2 separate regions of the Homo sapiens genome follow, and region 2 is linked to region 1. Evidence: promoter capture Hi-C in human tissues and cell types (Jung and others, 2019). All regions are on one chromosome and are shown on one strand. Each heading gives the region's core, a stretch centred on a gene start or on the middle of the fragment in contact. The rest is flanking DNA. Distances are from core to core; before and after follow the strand shown. Region 1 holds the start of KDM5A (lysine demethylase 5A). Region 2 has its middle 17 kb from the start of LINC02455.

Region 1 (2,892 bases), core at 393-2,892:
TTCCACTCTCATCTTCTTAGAATGCTAAGACCACCATGCAGTGGAAAAGCTCCATCTACCAGAAGATGAGAAGCCATGTGGAGAACTAAGACTTCCCAGCCAATAGCCAGCACCAACTGCCAGACACGTAAGTGAGGCCATCTTGAACCCTCCAACCCTAGATGTATTCACGGTTCTCCAGAGAAACAGAACCAATAAGATGTGTGTGTGTGTGTGTGTGTGTGTTTATAAAGATATTTATTTTAAGGACTTGACTCACTTGATTATAGAGCTTCCAAGTCCAAAATCTGCAGGGTGGGTTGGCAGGCTGGAGGCCAGGGAAAAGGTGATGCTACAGTTCAAGTCTGAGAGCCATCTACTGGCAAAATTCCTTCTTGCTCATGGAAGGTCAGTCTTTTGTTCTATTCAGGCCTTCAGTTGATTGGATAAGGCCTACTCACATTATGGAGGGCAATCTGCGTTATTCAAAGTCCCCTGATTTGTTACTCAGAGGTGAGAAAAATCATGGTGTACTAAAGTCACCACAAAAACTTCTGTAGATCATATGGAGAAGCAGGAGAGATGAAGCTGGAGAGCAAAGCAGCAAATCAGCAATTAAAAAAGATGTTTGGAGTTGTTGAGTTTGGAGATGAAAAGTGACAAGATGAATTCTGGATTTTAGACAAAGCAATCCAACGTGTGGATGGAGAGGGATTTGAGAGGAGAAATCAGCTGTTGTCAGTAAGAGTATTTAAATTAGGATACTGGTAACGGGGATGGAGAGACACACGATTATACATGGGAAGTGAGAGCAGAAAGAATTAGGATTATTTCTTGATTTTTTTTTTTTTTTTTTTTTTTTGCTCAGGCAACTGAATAGATGAAGTCATTAATGGAAACCAGGAACACTGAAGAAACAGTGAACAATTAAAGTACTTTGAGTTATCAAAGTGAGATGTCCTGCAGGTAGCTAGACGATACTGGCTGGTAATTCAGGAGAGCTGCTGCGTCCTGTGTAAAAGGAAAAGCAATTCATGGATGGTGGCTAAAGCCAGCTGGCAGGATTTAGGGGATGGGTTAGACCTGCACTTGTTTTGATGGAGAAGAGGCGGGTATAAAGTGGCAGAGTGAGATTACTGTAAAATATCTGCATTCAAAGGGCTAAAAAAAGAGAAATGCTGGAAAGGCTACTTGCTATAAACGCAGCAGGGTAGGTTAAAACAAATTACGAAGCACGGGCGGTGAGGCGCGGTGCTTAAGATTAAGCCCGGCGTGTTTTCGAGTGCACTGATACACAAAAGGGAAAGGGACCCTCCTCACCGGAAGCACAACCTCTGCCCTCTGGGGCATTACACATTCCTCCGCGCCGGAAGAAAGCGTCACGTCGCGTCGCGCCTCGCCCCGCCTCGTTGCGCCTCGCCCCGCCTCGCCCCGTCGGCTTCCCTCAATCCGTACCTCTAGTAAAGAAGAGCTTGTGCCCCTCCCCGACCCCTTACCAAGGGCGAGCTGCGTGGAGTCGTTGGACTGGGCAGAACTTTGGCGGGCAAGGAGACAAACAGCCACACTGTGCTGCCGGGGAAGAGAAGAAGAAGGAAAGGCCAGACACACAGGCGTCGTGCAGCTGCGGAAGGATTCCGTTTCCTGCAGGGGGCGGAGGGATTTGACAGCACGGTAACTTCCGGAAAAGTCCTGAACCTCAGTGGAAAAGCCTTGCAAGAAACAATAACAAACGGGAGGAGGAAGCGATTCTGGGGTTTCTGTGTTGAACGGTTCTTGTCCGCGAAGATGCGCTTCGGCCTCTGTCAGGGGACTTGAACGGGCTTAGTGGGCTTCAGCCAGCTTTTCTCCACCGGTTCCCCACGGGGACCCCCCCCCCCCCCCGGCCGTTGCAATGGCGGGCGTGGGGCCGGGGGGCTACGCGGCGGAGTTCGTGCCACCGCCAGAGTGCCCCGTCTTTGAGCCGAGTTGGGAGGAGTTCACAGATCCGCTCAGCTTTATCGGCCGCATCCGGCCTTTGGCGGAGAAAACCGGCATCTGCAAAATTCGGCCGCCCAAGGTACCTCAGTCTGTGAAGAGAGAGGGGGAGAAGGAAGAATGGGGGAGTCCGTACACTGGGTTTAGCTTTACTTTTCTGATCCTTGTCTCGTTTCATATGTACTCTCTTTTGAGACAACTGGAGCCTGTTTCTGGATGTTTTTGCCTCGGTTTCTTTTGTGGTCTTATGTAGACACGTCTGAAAGCGAGAAAGTGGTGTCTCTTGGGCCTCTTCCGCCTAGAACTTGGGAACTGATACTTTTCTCTCAGCCGTGGGCCTAAAGCCTTTCGTTAGCCGATATGGTGTTTAAAGTACAGTATTATGACGTGACGTATTCTTCCCTCACGTATCCTCATTATGGTTTGATAGTCGGCTATCTCTTTATTCAAGACCTGGTTGGATCAAATATTTGCAGGCCTCATCTCAGGGCTAGGGTTTCTGAAAAGGTTATCTGAGCTCTAGTCTCACCGGATGGTATTACTAGACAAGAACTCCAGACTAATTATTGCCGCAGTGAAAAAGTCTTAGCGGGGAAAGAGAAGGAGCAGCAATAATTCTAAAATTTAGAGGTTTAGGAAAAATTGGTTTATAGTGGAGGTGGAAGGAAATGTTGAAATCTCTTGACGTAGGGAACTCAAGATCAACGATTTTAGAATCACAGTTATTGCAGATAACTAGGTTTGCCTATAAGGTTAATTATAATCTCACCTTTGAGGTAAGGAAAACAGATACTATCCCTTGTGTGGAGGGGATTAATGCCCCAAGAGGTTGAGTGATTACTCAAGGTCAAAGGTGTTTTTCTTTACTCATTAGACCAGTGCTTTTTAAATGATGTTGCTGGACCACTTGCACCAGGGTCAACTGGATGCTTGTTTAAA
Region 2 (2,918 bases), core at 49-2,548, 340 kb before region 1:
GTGTGGCATTAGGATAGAATAAATGTAGAGATCAATGAAATAGAATTGAGCATTCAGAAATAATTCCTCACATTTATGACAAATTAATTTTCAAGAAGCTTGGCCGGGCGTGGTGGCTTATGCCTGTAATCCCAGCACTTTGGGAGGCCAAGGCAGACGGATCACGAGGTCAGGAGATCGAGACCATCCTGGCTAACACAGTGAAACCCCGTCTCTACTAAAAACACAAAAAAATTAGCCGGGCATGGTGGCAGGCGTCTGTAGTCCCAGCTACTCTGGAGGCTGAGGCAGGAGACTGGTGTGAACCCAGGAGGCGTAGCTTGCAGTGAGCTGAGATCGCACCACTGCACTCCAGCCTGGGCAACAGCGCGAGACTCCATCTCAAAAAAAATAAATTTCAAGAAGGGTGACAAGAAAGAATCCAATTAAATGGGAGAAAGAATAGTCTTTTCAACAAATGGTGCTGAGACAATTAGATAGCCACAGGCAAAAGAATGAAACTGAACACCTACCTCACACCATACACAAAAGTTAACTCGGAATGGTCTATAGACCTAATTGTAAGAGGTCCAACTATAAAATACTTAGAAGAAAACAGGAGTAAATCTTTGTCACTATTAGGCTGCTACTCGAGAGGCTGAGGTGGGAGGATTGCTTGAGCCCAGGAGTTCAAGGTTGATTGCGCCACTGCACTTCAACCTGGGTGACAGAGTGAGACTCTGTCTCTAAAAAAACCTATACACACACACACACACACGCACACACACACTATATATATATACACATATATACACACAAATGTTCAATTAACACATGAAAAGATGCTACTGGATTGATGATAGTCAAAACCATAATGATGTACTGATCACATCAACTAGGATGACTATAATCAAAAAGAAAGATAGGCCAGGCACAGTGGCTCATGCCTGTAATCCCAGCACTTTGGGAGGCTGAGGTGGATGGATCACCTGAGGTCAGGAGTTTGAGACCAGCCTGGTCAACATGGTGAAACCCCGTCTCTACTGAAAATACAAAAATTAGCCAAGCGTGGTGGGAGCTACTTGGGAGACTGAGGCAGGAGAATCACTTGAACTGGTAGGCGGAGGTTGCAGTGAGCCGAGATTGCGCCATTGCCCTCCAGCCTAGGCAACAGAGCAAGATTTCATCTCAAAAAAAAAAAAAAAAAAAGATAGTAATAAGTATTGGTGAGGATGTGGAGAAATTGAAATCCTTATTTACTGTTGGTGGGAATATAAGGTGATATATGTTCCACTGACTTGGAAAACAGTCTGGCACTTCCTCAAAAGCTTCAACACAAGTTGGGGGCAGTTACTTATGCCTGTAATCTCAGCACTTTGGGAGGCTGTGGCAGGAAGATCCCTTGAGCCCAGGAGTTCAAGACCATCCTACTGAGACCCCATATCTAAAAAACAAAAATTAAAAATTAGCCAGTTGTGGTGCCGCACACCTGTAGTCCCAGCTACTTGGAGGCTGGGGTGGGAAGATGGCTTGAGCCCAGGAGGTCAAAGCTTCAGTGAGCCATCATTGCACCGCTGTACTCCAGCCTGCACAATAGAACAAGACCCTGTCTCAAACAACAAAAAGGTTCAACACAAAGTTGCCATACGATTTGACAATTCTAGCTTGTTCCAGTAATTCCACTCCAAGGTACATACTCACAAAAAATAAAAACATATATCCACACAATAACTTGTACATGAATGTTCATAGTAGTATTAGTCATAATAGCCAACCCAAATGTCCATCAATTATAGATAAACAAAATGTGGCGTATCCATACAATCGAATATTTTTCAGGCATAAAAAAGAATGAAGTACTGATACATACTAAAACATGGATAAATTTTAAAACATTATGGATAATCTGTCATTTATCCCATCCAGTAGAGTCGTCATCTCAGACATTGTAGTTCTCATTTCTTTTTTTTATTTTTTTAATTTATATATATATATATTTTATTATACTTTAAGTTTTAGGGTACATGTGCACAACGTGCAGGTTTGTTGCATATGTATACGTGTGCCATGTTGGCGTGCTGCACCCATTAACTTGTCATCTACATTAGGTATATCTCCTAATGCTATCCCTACCCCCTCCCCCCGTAGTTTTCATTTCTAAAAGTTAAATTTGGTTCTTTTAATATCTTCCATGTCTCTACTTAATATATTTAATCTTTCCTCTAGCTTTATTTATTTATTTTTTTTGAGACGGAGTTTCACTCTTGTTGCCCAGGCTGGAGTGCAATGGCGTGATCTCGGCTCACTGCAACCTCTGCTTCCTGGATTCAAGCGATTCTTCTGCCTCAGCCTCCCAAGTAGCTGGGATTACAGGCATGCGCCACCATGCCTGGCTAATTTTGTATTTTTAGTAGAGACAGGGTTTCTCCATGTTGGTCAGGCTGGTCTCAAACTCCCGACCTCAGGTGATCCACCCGCCTCAGCCTCCCAAAGTGCTGGGATTACAGGCATGAGCCACCACGCCCAACCTAGCTCTTTGAACATATAGAATAGAGTTATAATAACTATTTTAATGTTCTTGACTGCTAATTCTAATATCTGCATAGGTTCCAGGTCAGTTTGATTGATTAATTACATTCCTCATTATGGGTACACTCAGTAATTTTTATTTAATATTATTCATAGTGAATGTACCCTGTTAGGGGCTGGATATTTTTATAGTCCCACAAATATTCTTGAGCTAATTCTGGGACACAGTTATTTGGAAACAGTTTAATCCTTTAAGGTCTTACTTTTAAGATTTGTTAGGCAGAACCAGAGCAGCCTTTGGGCTAGGGACAATCTTGGTCCAGAACTGAGGCAAGACCTCCTGAATACTTTAACCCATGCCCTGTGAATTATTGATTTCCAATATGCCTGGTGGGAACAGGCACTACTTC

Evidence for each region. The method cuts DNA at HindIII sites, captures the fragments that hold promoters and counts their contacts. A contact is called where the count stands out against the background at its distance.
Region 2: a fragment that was not itself captured here is called in contact with the fragment with the promoter of KDM5A in region 1 in 1 of the 25 tissues and cell types used here (dorsolateral prefrontal cortex).

Annotation. Positions count from the first base shown.
Region 1 is chr12:388,070-390,961 of GRCh38, reverse strand. It overlaps KDM5A (lysine demethylase 5A), which reads left to right and starts at 1,642. Exons shown (of 28, transcript NM_001042603.3): 1 at 1,642-2,035. The coding sequence starts at 1,871. It overlaps LOC105369594 (a long non-coding RNA gene), which reads left to right. Exons shown (of 4, transcript XR_007063149.1): 4 at 21-929. It also overlaps a transcript of CCDC77 not described here. RefSeq lists an enhancer at 1,185-1,479. The HindIII fragment of the contact is 14,723 bases long and covers 1-2,892 here.
Region 2 is chr12:731,956-734,873 of GRCh38, reverse strand. No RefSeq gene overlaps it. Among named protein-coding and RNA genes, the nearest start is that of LINC02455, 17 kb to the right of the region's middle. The HindIII fragment of the contact is 3,427 bases long and covers 1-2,918 here.